2 separate regions of the Homo sapiens genome follow, and region 2 is linked to region 1. Evidence: promoter capture Hi-C in 16 types of primary human blood cells and fetal thymus (Javierre and others, 2016). All regions are on one chromosome and are shown on one strand. Each heading gives the region's core, a stretch centred on a gene start or on the middle of the fragment in contact. The rest is flanking DNA. Distances are from core to core; before and after follow the strand shown.

Region 1 (6,469 bases), core at 1,639-4,138:
TACAGAACATGAGGATAATTCCAGGGCTGACACAGAATTTCAGAAACATAACTGGGCACAGACAAGGAAGTAAAGGGATATCCTAGTCAGCACCAGATTTAGGGAATTAGAAATGCAGGCAAAGTTTGTCTTTGACATTTATCACCTTTGTTCCATGGCACAATTTCCTAAGCTTTGCTCACTTACTCCCAAGTAATTGTAATTTTGGTGCCTTCATGTTACTTTCTCACTGTACAGTTTCCTCAATCTCTTTTTTTTTTTTTTTTTTTTTTTGAGAAGGAGTTTTGCTCTGTCACCCAGGCTGGAGTGCAGTGGCAGGATCTCAGCTCACTGCAACCTCTGCCTCCTGGGTTCAAGTGATTCTCGTGCCTCAGCCTCCCAAGTAACTGGGATTACAGGCACCCACCACCATGCCTGGCTAATCTTTGTATTTTTAATAGAGTTGGGGTTTCACCAGGCTGGTCTTGAATTCCTGGCCTCAAGTGATCCGCCTGCCTCAGCCTCCCAAAATGCTGGGATTACAGGTGTGAGCCACTGCACCCGGCCTGCTCTTGACATATCTAAAATCTCAAATGGTCACAGGACACAAATGGAGAGTTCTCCATTAATATACTACTTTCCCCTACTTACCTTTGCATTTTGACAAGGCTTTCTAGTAACAAATCCTTAATCTGAAATTCGTAATTTCAAGGCCAATACTCTACAGAGGTATCTGCAAAGTCATGTAATTCCAGCACAGCAGAGGTCTTCCGTCCTGTTGCTCTGAAAAATACTTCTCCAATATTGATTCATCCTTTTGGCCTCAGACTTTAACTACTCCCATAAAATGTGAGTTTCTTGGGAGCAGGACCTGAGCTGAGCCAATAAAAAGACACCCATAAAAGCACTAACTCAGTCATTTGTTTTCCTAATGGTGCCAAGGCAGGCTGGTGTGTTGTGACATATCAATCCACTTCTGTGTACCTGCCCTTCCCCGTCCAGCAAAATATCATCATTTTTAATATATGTTGTGATACTAAAATATTTCAGAAGTGTTGACCGAGTAGACATTCAATAATGATTATAGCTGATACTTACAGAGCACCTACTATGTGCCAAACACTGTATGTATTTTAACTCATTTAATCCTTGCAACAATCCTGTTAGGTTGGTATTGTTATTCTCATTTTGCAGATGAAGAAATTTGAAAAGACTTGCCCAAGGTCACAGAGATGAGAAATAGAGGCATCAGCATTTAAACCTAGGCAATCTAGAACCAGAGGGTACATTTAACCACTATACATCTCCCCTAAATACATCTTTGCATCACACCTGTTATCTCAGCACTTTGGGAGGCCACTAAGGCCGGAGGATCGTTTGTTGCCAGCAGTTCAAGACCAGCCGGGTCAGCATACCAAAATCTTGTCTCTCCAAAAATTTTAAAAATTGGCCAGGTATTGTAGGGGCACCTGTAGTCTGAGATACTTGGGAGGTTGAGGTGGGAGGATCGCTAGAGCCCAGGAATTTGAACGTGCGGTGAGCATGATCCAGCCACTGCACTCCAGCCTGGGTGACAGAGTGAGACTGTGAACAACAACAAAAAAATCAAGTTTCCTGGATCTATACAAAATTTTCAATTTAACAAATTTTTATAAAAATTTGTTTTAAAATAAACACCCCTCTAAATGGCAAAGCTAGAACAGAATCTGGTCACAATCTATAGGTTAGATATAGGATGACAGGGAGGAGCAAGAGCTGAACACATCAGCTGCAGCACCATCTACTTTGCCTGCGACTCCGTTAGCAGGCCCACTTTGCCCTTTTATAAATTATCTGATCAACAACTAAGAGATTAAAATTCGATCTATGTTTTACTCTATCTGAATCCTCAATATAATGAAGAACTTTATAATTGTTAATTTATGGATATAATTTAAGTTCATTAAACCATTATTTCCTTCCTATATCCTCTCATTCTTCCACAAAAACCTCTACCTTTGGGTGTTTACTTTTACAGACACCCACGCACACACCCCACACGCACGCACGCACATGCCTTATCTTTTAACTCAAGATTCTCATCTTCCTTTGGGGAGAAACAAACATCATGAGCCTTGAGGTCCATTTTCTGAGGGAAAGGGGGGGGCGGAGGCGGGATGAATAGGTTTTTACCCGGTATTTTTTATCATAAACGGGGAGGTACAAACCGCAAAGAAACACTAGTCGCTTGGTGGGCCACCACCTCTGGGGCTCACTGATCAATCGCACCCAAACTCATTTACTAATTTAAAAAAGTACTGTGGCAAGGCTCGTTTACGTAAGTCTTGGAGAGAAGCCGCCGCCACAATCTGCCGCAGTCTCGTGCGGAGTCACGGCCACCGAGCTCTTCACTTTCCCCAAGAGGCTCCCACGCCTTCCCCATCCCCAAGGGAGCTAGGCGGTCCCTCGCGGCTCTGAGTCCCTCGGGGAAGGCCGCGAAGAGAGGCCGCAGGCGCCCTGGCGAGAAGGGAGGGCGGGGGCAGCGGGCGGCGGGCAGCACCCGGGCTCCAGTTCATGACCCCGTTATTCCACAGAAAAATGGAACATTCCGCTCTTTCCGCCCACAGAGGGGAGGTGGGGGGAACCCTTCGATCTAGTCTGGGAGAGGCGACGCGGACGCAGCCACCGGAATCCGGGACGCGAAGAGCCGCGTTACGGGAATCGCTACCCCTCGGAGTCCCGCCCCCTCGTCGACAGGCGGCCACTGGACCAATGCCTGGGCGCAAAGGGTCTCTCAGGGGCCAATCAGCGCCTAGGTCCCGGTAGGGGGCGGGGCGCAGCGTTGGCCGGCCGGGGGCGCAGCTGGGCGGGATTGGGGAGCGCCCCGCCCCGCCGCGGGACTGGGGTGGCGCGCTACCTCTGCGGAGAAGGATCTGACAGTGTTCCGGAGCCGGGGCGAGCAGCCAAAAGGCCCGCGGAGTCGCGCTGGGCCGCCCCGGCGCAGCTGAACCGGGGGCCGCGCCTGCCAGGCCGACGGGTCTGGCCCAGCCTGGCGCCAAGGGGTTCGTGCGCTGTGGAGACGCGGAGGGTCGAGGCGGCGCGGCCTGAGGTGAGGAGGGGCCGGGTGCTGGGTCGCGTAGCTGGAGTTAGAGTGTCGGTGGTTTCGGACGGGCTATCTGGCACTCGAGGAGACCTCCCTTCCCCCTGAGAGCAGCGCCCGGAACTTGTCAGCCCAGCCTGGAAATCCCCACATTCCTTCCCCTTCCTGCTCCCGGACCTCCGAATTCTACTTCCACAACTTTGTCACCTCGATTATCGCAGCCCTGAGTACAAACTTCACCCAGGCGCACGCACGCACCCCTCTTAACGCCCGCCCCGCAGAACGCCCTTCAAGAACAAACCCCCCTTTTTGTTACCAGATCCCACGTTTTTCCCAATCCCCTTTTCATCTCCCCTGAAATTCTATTCGCTCCGCACTTGTCTTCATTCTCGAGGTGGATTTCCCTTCCCCAAAGCCGTTTTTTCATCTTGAAATCGTAACGTTTCAGCTTTGTTGAAAGTTCACAATGCTTATAAACACTATTAACGTTTCTTTCCTTCTTTTGATCTTTTCTATTAATAATTATCATTCCTAACGAATTCCACATCTCACTGTATCCCAAGGAGAACAAATCAGTTTTTAAAATTTTACCTCCTCCGACCTAAACTTTTGAAGATAGTGCAGGAAGCAAGGGTCTGTTCTTCAGTGGATGAACAGCATTTTATTTCATAATCCGAAACTGAAAAAAAAAAAAAATCACAGGTTAAAAATAAGACGTCACCTTTTTTTTTTTTTTTTTTTTTTGCCTTCAGAAGGAAACGCATTTTGGCTTAGTTTGTGAAGTATTTCAACAATTATACTGCCTTAAAATAACTAGTTATTAGAATGCCAGGGTGAATTTTCTGAAAGATTGTGGTATTTGCTTTTGACAGTGCTGTAAACAAACCCTTTAAACTGTGTATGACTGCCAGCTTCAAGTTGGAACAACTCTTAATTTGAAATTACGGACTCAGATCATCAGTTTAGCTGTGTGCCATTATGTTAATTTCTTAAATTCATGTTAATTCCTATTTGGAAGTATTTTTGAACTATGAACTGAAATATTACATTTATAGAACCAACTTGCTATTAAATTGTGCTTTCCAACTATTTCTCTTTAGGGATAATCTTGAACGTTTGTTTTTAATCTTGAGTGAAAGAAAAAAATTACAGGAAGGAGAAAGTGTCAAAAAGGACAGACTGTAGTGGGATTTTTTTCTTATTTTAAGTATGTATTGACAATACCAGTTTAATTTTCTCACAGGCAATTTAGATTATTATAAATACTGCTGCCACCTAATTTAATATAATATAGTCTTACGTAACTAAAAATGTTGTTCTCACTCTTATTTGTGAATTGCAGTATTTTCAATTTATTTAAATTTGTTTCCAAGGCTTTGCACTTCAGTTCAGTGTTAGGGCGAAAGTTAAATACATGTGAAGTAGGTGTTAAAATGTCCCCTTTATAGAGAAGGAAACAGGAGTCTCGCTGAAAACTAGATCTGTGTGACTCCAAATCCTGTGCTCTGAATCATTTTGTCATGTTGACACGTTTCTCATAAAAACCCCAGTGCCACAATTTGGTTTGGGAACTTAAGGGCAACCCATAAATCCTCTACAGTGGCAGGGAGGGATTCCCCGCTCCCTCCTTTCAGAGCTGCTCATTTTAATGGGAGTCAGAATTCTCTGGCCCTAATACATTTGCAGCTTGGCTCCTAGAGAAGCATGGAATGTTCTCACAGCTTCTCCGTTTCTTTGATTGCAAAGGCAGAATGATCAGAGTTGAGGTTCCTATTGTGCTTTATTATTTTACACAGCAAATACTAAGCAATTACTACCTGCTGTACGAACTCACAAAGGTGCAGGAGATGTAATCAGGACCTTCAAAGAGTTTATAATAATTGGATTGACAAACTTATACGAAAAAAACTACAAGGATGCAAAGCAGTTTTAATTAAATGCAGAGTGATGCAGAAAATCCTGTAGATATTAAAATTAGGGAATGATCGTTTAAGGATTGGAGTGAGCATTTAAGGATTGGAATGAGCAAAGGATTTACCAGAAGTTGGCCTTGAAACCTGGGTAGGATTTGGATAAAGGGAAAAATGAAGACAGCCCATTAATAATAGCGAATGGAGGACAAAATGTAGAATGGAGAATATAGAACATAATATAGGACTAGCTTGTGGAAAGGATCAGCAGTAACTAAGGTCTATTAATTAAAACAGGCAATATATTTAGTGCTTATGTTGTGCCAGTTGCTGTTTTGAGCACTTTGCCCATATTAAGGCATTTAATCTTCATAATATTATGAAGTAGGTCTAATAATAATAGGATAAAATCCTCTTTTTACACATAGGGAAACCCAGGCACAAGAAGGTTAATTAATTTGCCCAGCTAAGTGGTAGATCTAAAGGTCATACATAGACAGCCTGGCTTCAGAATCTGACCTCTTAACCATGATACATCCTGCGTCTCCATACAGTACGCTTGAGCGACAGCGAGTAGATAGAAAATAAGATCATACCAGAAAGTCTATAAAAACCCACCCTTAATTGTCCACCAGGTGCCTCAAACTATGGTAGATTCTGAGGATATCAAGATATGTGAAACAATTACTGTGCAGTGTTCTGAGTCCTGTTAGGGAATGATGTAAGAGTACACTGACAGCAAAGATGTTTGAAGTGGGGGGAAATTCCATATAAGAGATGATACTTCAAAAGCAGTTTGTAGTGCACAGCAGAGTCAGGAAAGACATTGGAATAATATATGTAGAAGCACAGACTGAAAGAACAAGGTATGTTAGAGGAAGTCTAGTGGTTTGCTGAGTCTACAGGGATGGTTAGTAGGGAGTGATGAAAGATAAGACCGAATTATAAATGGCATGGTGTGGTCAAGCAAAATGAGGAGCTTAAGTATTTGCTTTGCAGTTTGGAAACTACAAGAATAATTTCAGCATTATTGGAGTAAAAAAGCCAGATTGCTTGCAATTGCAAGCAGTTCTCTCTAGAAGTATAGTAGTAAGGTAGCTTGAGGGAGGAGTCTGAGGAAAGGATTTTTTTTTTTTTTTAGAATAGAGAAACTTGAGTATTGGAAAAGATAGATTGGATAGGCACATCAAAGCCAAAATTTTAGGTTCTTAAATAGTTAGAATATTTGGCATTATTATTCACCCTTTAAAAAGCTGTTGAGGAGAAGAATGACAGGTTTAAAGTTGTGTTGTAGAGAGAGTGATCCACCAACAATGTTCAGAATGCTTGGTGGGGAGGAAAGAGACTGGAAGCAGGAACACAGTTGAAATTATTGAGGTGATCAATGTCCAAATTAGGTTAGTTTGTGGTAGAGAGTAAAAAGAAGAGATGGGTGGGAAAGATATTATGGGAGAGAAGACAGGATAAGATTTGTAACTGAGAAAAGCTAAAATGTACTGCA
Region 2 (6,469 bases), core at 2,455-4,954, 190 kb before region 1:
ACAACGGTTATTGATTCCACATACATGAGGTGCCTTTAGTAGTCAAATTCATAGACAGAAAGCAGAATGGTGGTTTCCAGGGACTGGGGATGGGAAAGAATGGGAAGTTACAGTTTAATGAGTACAGAGATTTGGAAGATGAAAAGATGAGTTTTAGTGATGGTTACACAACAGTGTGAATGGACATAATGCAATTGAACTGTAAGTACACTTAAATGGTTAAAATTTTAAATTTTATGTATCTTTTACCACATTTTTTTTTTTTTTTTTTGAGACAGAGTCTCGCTCTGTTGCCCAGGCTGGAGTGCAGTGGCGCGATGTTGGCTCACTGCAAGCTCCGCCTCCCGGATTCACACCATTCTCCTGCCTCAGCCTCCTGCACAATTTTTTTAATTAAAAAAACTCTTTAACTATCTGAAGGCTACTATCATGACCCCTGGAATAATCTTCAGAGTAGACACATTTATCTCCTTCAACCATTCTTCACGTGACATGATTAAAGTCCATTCATACCTCCAGTCACTCACCTCTGAATGTTCTCCAGCCACTATACCCCTGTTTAATTGAGACCATAGACCTCAATATGACACTGACCAGTTAAGAATGGAAAAGGCCTATCACTGCCCTCAATATGGCTACTAGATTTGGTAATTCAGCCAGACTTCCTACTAATTTATTACAACGCTGTTTATTTCTATAGAGCTAATTTTCCAGCTAAAACTCCAAGTTCTTTTTTAAAACGTTTTATCAGTCAGAACTTTTTCAGTGATTAAAAAGAAAATCCAAACGAATACACAAAATCTATGTAAATTGACTTAAGCTGGAGGCATCACATTACTTGACTTCAAATTATACTACAAGGCTATAGTAACCAAAATAGCATGATACTGGCATAAAAACAGCCACGTAGACCAATGGAACAGAATTGAGATTCCAGAAACAAGTTCACACATTTACAGTCAACTCATTTTTAACAAAGGCACCAAGACATACATTTGGGAAAGGACAGTCTCGTCAATAAAAGGTGCTGGAAGACTGGATATCTATATGCAGAAGAATAAAACTAGACCCCTATCTCTCACCATATACAAAAGTCAAATCAAAATGGATTAAAGATTTAAATGTAAGACATGAAACTACCAGAAAACATTGGGGAAATGCTTCGGGAGATTGACCTAGGCTAAGATTTCTTTTTTCTTTTTCTTTTTTTTTGGTTGTAGGGGGGTGGCGGGGTTGCGGGGGCAGGGCAGAGAAAATATCTCCACCTTTCTCTGGTAAGAGAAAGATGTCACCAGGTGGCTTCCAGGTTCATGGGTGGTAGAATAAAGCAACAGTATTGTTCTCGACAACCCCAGTCAACATATCAAACGTATCATTGCTTTTCGTGGGCTCTAATTGGGTCACATCCCTGAATCCATCTCCATGGCCAGGATAATGCTAGTGCTGAGTGGCTTAGTTCTAAGCCACATGTTCTGCCCCTGACCAGGGATATAGCCAATTCCACTGAATCAGCCTGTGGGCTAGAAGAGGAGAGGAAGTAGTCCCTAGAGAATAATCAGGTTTACCTTATCAACAGGGAGAGGGGAAGTTGAGTGCAAAAACTACATACTTAACCACCCTTCAATCAGTTCAACTGGATATTTTGTGGACCAAGATATTGTTACCGGGGGTCCTTGTTCTTAGAGCTCCGAAGATGGTGGCGGGGGGCTTCCAAGATGGTAGCCAGCCTCGTGTTATCTGACCTGGGGTTCTTGGCCTCACGTATTCCAAGAAATGGAATCTTGGGCCATGCAGTGAGTGTTATAGCTCTATTAGAAGCCGTGGGTCACGGAAGAGAACCTAGAACCCAGTGACTAGCGTTCAGCTCGATTAGGATGAACCCAGGCAGTTAGCCGTGCAGGAACAATGGCAAGCCTTTAGCCCGATTGGGAGCAGCAATGGGTGCCTCGCTGGATCAGGAGCACAGCGGTCACCCTGCTGGATCCAGAGGGATAGAAGTCAGCGGCGGGTCTGCGACAGCAGCAAACAGCAGTGGTGGACAGTGAGCGAAAGCTCAGCTCAAGCCGTAACAAACACGGACCAGAAGAGTGTGCAGTTGCAAGATTTAATAGAGTGAAAACAGAGCTCCCATACAAAGGGAGGTGACCCAGAGAGGGTAGCCGTTGCCAGCTCGAATGCCTGGGTTTAAATCCCGGTCATTGTCCCTCCCGCTGTGCTCTCAGACAATAGATGATTGGCTATTTCTTTACCTCCTGTTTTTGCCTAATGAGCGTTTTAGTGAGCTCTCTTTACTACCTGATTGGTCGGGTGTGAGCTAAGTTGCAAGCCCTGTGTTTAAAGGTGGATGCAGTCACCTTCCCAGCTAGGCTTAGGGATTCTTAGTCAGCCTAGGACATCCAGCTGGTCCTGTCTTTCAATATGTTACTCTACCTTTAGCTCTATTAAATACTATCTAATTAGATTTCTGGCAAGATATTTTGGGGATCATAATTCTATCAGGCAATGCATTCATTGTTTCTCTCAGCTGTATGTGGTCCACAGTGTGATGAATGTGCCTTGCATATTTTATTGCACTCAGTGATGAACGGATTGTGAATACATTTATGTCTGTTATATAGGCACATTATATAACATATGAACAGGCTGTTAAACACAGAGCTCCTCAGCCCACCACCAGGATCTTCCTCCTGAAGTGATACCACCAGCATCTTTGGATGTGGTCACACAACCAGATACCAGCTCCATCTTTGTCCTGTTTCTGGGCCCTATTTCTTGTGCCCAAATATACTGTGAGAAATCTTAACAAAATGTCTAGAGTCCTAGGAAGGTTCCTAATGGGGACTAATGTTCTGTGCAATGTATGGACTTTTTGTCTAATCATCATCAACAAGAGACTATTTTCTCTACATGTCCCAGATTTCTAATGCTTTCTAAACGCACCAAAAAAAAATTTTTTAAGTAGCAGTAGTCACAGCAAATATATACACTATTATATGCCAGGCCTTGTTCTAAAAGCACACAGAATTAAATATTAATTCATTTTTTTCCTCACAACAAACTTATAAGAGAGGTAGGTAGTTATCCTAATTATCATCATTATTACCTTCATTTTAAAGACAAAGAAACTGGCCAGGAACAGTGGCTTACGCCTATAAATCACAGCACTTTGGGAAGCCAACATGGGAGGATCATTAGAGACCAGCCTGGGCAACATGGCAAAACCCCATCTCTACAAAAAATACAAAAATTAGCTGGGCGTGGTGGTGCATGTCTGTAGTCCCAGCTACTCAGGAGGCTGAGATGGGTGGATCACTTGGGCCTGGGAGGTCAAGGCTGCAGTGAGCCAAGATCACGCCACTGCACTCCAGCATGGGTGACCCAACGAGACCCTGTCTCAAATAAACAAACAAACAAACAAAAACAAGGAAACTAAGGCCTGGAGAGGGGACGGTCCAAATCCACACAGCTGGTCAGTGCAAGCTGATACTGAGGTTGTCTGCCTCCATAGTCCTTGCGCTCATCACAGGAGTGGCATTTGACCTGGACACCCCTCCTCTTTCACTTCTGGCCCCCAGGCAAATGTGCAAGTGAGTCTGACTAAAACAAACAAACGAAAACAACAAAATACTACTGTGAGTAAGTTAGGGAACAACTACTCACTTTACAAAACAGTTTGTTGTCATAAGTGAATCATTTCCAATAACAAGTTCCTTTGGGGACAGACAGGTCAACCGGCACTTATGACTTCCCAAAAATACTGGGACAGAGAAACCGAGGCAAAGGGTTAGGACCACTGCCAACGAAAGATCAATTCGAACTGAAAACTAAAAAGTATCTTTGACATAATATCCACATTAGCAGAAAAACACAACTTAAAAAAACCTTTTTCTCTTTTTTTACTTTTTTTTTTTTTGAGATGGAGTTTCACTCTTGTTGCCCAGGCTGGAGTGCAATGGCGCCATCTGGGCTCACCGCAACCTCCACCTCCCGGGTTCAAGCAATTCTCCTGCCCCAGCCTCCCGAGTAGCTGGAATTACAGGCATGCACCACCAGGCCCAGCTAATTTTTTGTATTTTTAGTAGAGACGGAGTTTCTCCATGTTGGTTAGGCTGGTCTCAAACTCCTGACCTCAGGTGATCCACCCACCTCAGCCTCCCAAAGTGCTGCGATTACAGGCGTGAGCCACCACACCTGAACAGTGGCTATGCTTGAGGGGCAGAGGAGGCGTGCATGGGAGGAACGGTGTGAGTTGATCAACACAGCCTCTCCCTGGAGGCCTCCTCTTGAGCAGAACTCACCTCCCAGTCCTCCCCGTTCTCCACTTGACCCACAGTTCTTTTGTTGTTGTTGTTTTGTTTTGAGACAGAGTCTCGCTCTGTCGCCCAGGCTAGAGTGCAGTGGTGCAATCTCGGCTCACTGCACCCTCTGCCTCCCGGGTTCAAGCAATTATCCTGCCTCAGCCTCCCAAGTAGCTGGGATTACAGGCACATGCCACCACACCTGGCTTATTTTTTTGTATTTTTAGTAGAGACTGGGTTTCTCCACATTGGCCAGGCTGGTCTTGAACTCCTGACCTCAAGTGATCCGCCCGCCTCGGCCTCGCACAGTGCTGGGATTACAGGCATGAGCCACTGCACCCAGCCCCACTTGACCCATAGTTCTGTTGTCGCCTTTCTTTTTTTTTTTTTAAGACAAGGTCTCACTCTGTTGTCCAGGCTGGAGTATAGTGGCACAATCATAGCTCACTGCTTGAACTCTGGGGCTCAAGCAATCCTCCTGCCTCGGCCTCCTGAGTACCTGGGACTACAGGTACCCACCACAATGCCCAGCTAATTTTTAAATTTTTTGTAGAGAGAGGGTCTCACTGTGTTGCCCAGGCTGATCTCGAACTCCTGGGCTCAAGCCATCCTCCCACCTCAGCCTCCCAAAGTGCTGAGATTACAGATCTGAGCCATCATGCCTGGCCTGATGTTGCCTTTGACCATGCTATTAGTTGGTTCAGGCATGCACAAGGCATAATGCAGGTGGCTACCAAATTCAAAGGAGTTGCCTACAGTTCTGTTTCTTCTGGGAATGCCCTCTCATGAAATCTCAGGTGGTTGAAATGAAGAGACTTTCATGAAGGGACAGCTTGCAGAGATGACGCAGGGCTGAAAGAATGAACTAGGGATGCTGAAGCTCCACAGACTAACATCAGTGGGAAGCCAATCCCATCCTTACAGCTAAGAAGGATGGGAGGGGACCATTTTATCAGGGAACCCAGAGAGACTGACTCTGCAGAGGAAGAGACTGGCTCTGCCAAGAAAGAGCCTCCTGTTGGGAGAGAAGTGGCTCCTGCCGAACACGGCACTAGGGGAAGGCAGGAAGAAATGTCCCATCTCTCTCTTCTCCCCATCAGGCTCCTGCCCGTGCCTCTCATGGGCAAGCAAAAGGGTGAGGGAGCCTGGGTGGAGCACTCGGCAAGGGTCAGTCCTCAGGGTACAGAATAGGGTGGGAAAGGCTGCCTCACCCTCCACATCTGGAGAACGGAGAATGGAGAGCACAATGTCTCTTTGAAAGGTAGTAAACTGAGTTATTGGGAGGACAAGGAACATGTTCCAGATCAAAAAGGGCAATGCAGAACCAAGATGAGGGCCCCACTTCCCACTTTCCTCTCTGGGCTCCCTGGCTTCGAGAAGCCTGAATGCCTGGAAATAATCAGAAAATCTCAAATGACATCCAATCCCTCAGGTTCCTTTCCAATACACGGCGGTGTTACAAATGGCATGAGTGATCCACCTTTCTTCAGAAGTGGTGAGGGAGTGTGTAGCCAGGATGACCCAGACTTCTGCCTGGATTCACTTGAGAAGTTTTAATGAATCACTTGTGTGGGTGACGACTTGGGTATTGTTATTCTTTCAGTGAACTGGCTCCACACACTAACATTGTGTCTGTTTTATGCATGAAGGTGACTCATCTGAGGAAGTTGACCTGACCATGGTTTATCAAGCAGCCTCTAATGGAGATGTCAATGCTCTGACTGCAGTGATTCGGGAAGACCCTTCTATCCTAGAATGCTGTGACAGTGAAGGTGAGATATGTATGCATTTTGAATCCAGAATGTTCTGCTCTATTTTTTTAGAGATGGCCTTCAGACATGAGCAATGTTAATAAATGTATATCTGACCAGCCATTTTGATACTGTGCCTATGTGCAGGTACCACATCGCCTCTTATAATGAAGTCATCAGTTTGAGTTTGTTTTCAATATCTTTGTATGAATGACCAAAATAGATAGGTCAAGTAGTTAGGAAAAGGTACGGAAAGAGCAGGCTACTTTTGGTAGCAATGGATGTTGAGAAAATGTAACTGTAAAAGGCAAAGAGCAAGGATTTCTGCTTCTGGGAAGATGGAGTAGATGCATTTCTTTGGTATTATTTCTGCTAAATGCAACTAAAAACCCTGGACGTTATATGTAAACATAAAAAGAC

What was found. Contacts are between HindIII fragments. The CHiCAGO score rates a contact against its expected background, and 5 or more counts as called.
Region 2: a contact is called between a fragment that was not itself captured here and the fragment with the promoter of IL6ST in region 1, in 7 of 17 cell types (activated CD4 T cells, total CD4 T cells, naive CD4 T cells and 4 more). The highest score is 8.2, in activated CD4 T cells.

Annotation. Positions count from the first base shown.
Region 1 is chr5:55,991,382-55,997,850 of GRCh38, reverse strand. IL6ST (interleukin 6 cytokine family signal transducer) reads left to right here and starts at 2,888. Exons shown (of 17, transcript NM_002184.4): 1 at 2,888-3,067. IL6ST-DT (IL6ST divergent transcript) reads right to left here and starts at 2,684. Exons shown (of 2, transcript NR_102755.1): 1 at 2,297-2,684. RefSeq lists an enhancer at 2,335-2,846, cis regulatory regions at 2,435-3,108, 1,802-4,120 and a silencer at 2,678-3,157. The HindIII fragment of the contact is 8,053 bases long and covers 175-6,469 here.
Region 2 is chr5:56,183,113-56,189,581 of GRCh38, reverse strand. ANKRD55 (ankyrin repeat domain 55) reads left to right here. Exons shown (of 12, transcript NM_024669.3): 3 at 5,948-6,070. Among named protein-coding and RNA genes, the nearest start is that of ANKRD55, 47 kb to the left of the region's middle. The HindIII fragment of the contact is 8,871 bases long and covers 1-6,469 here.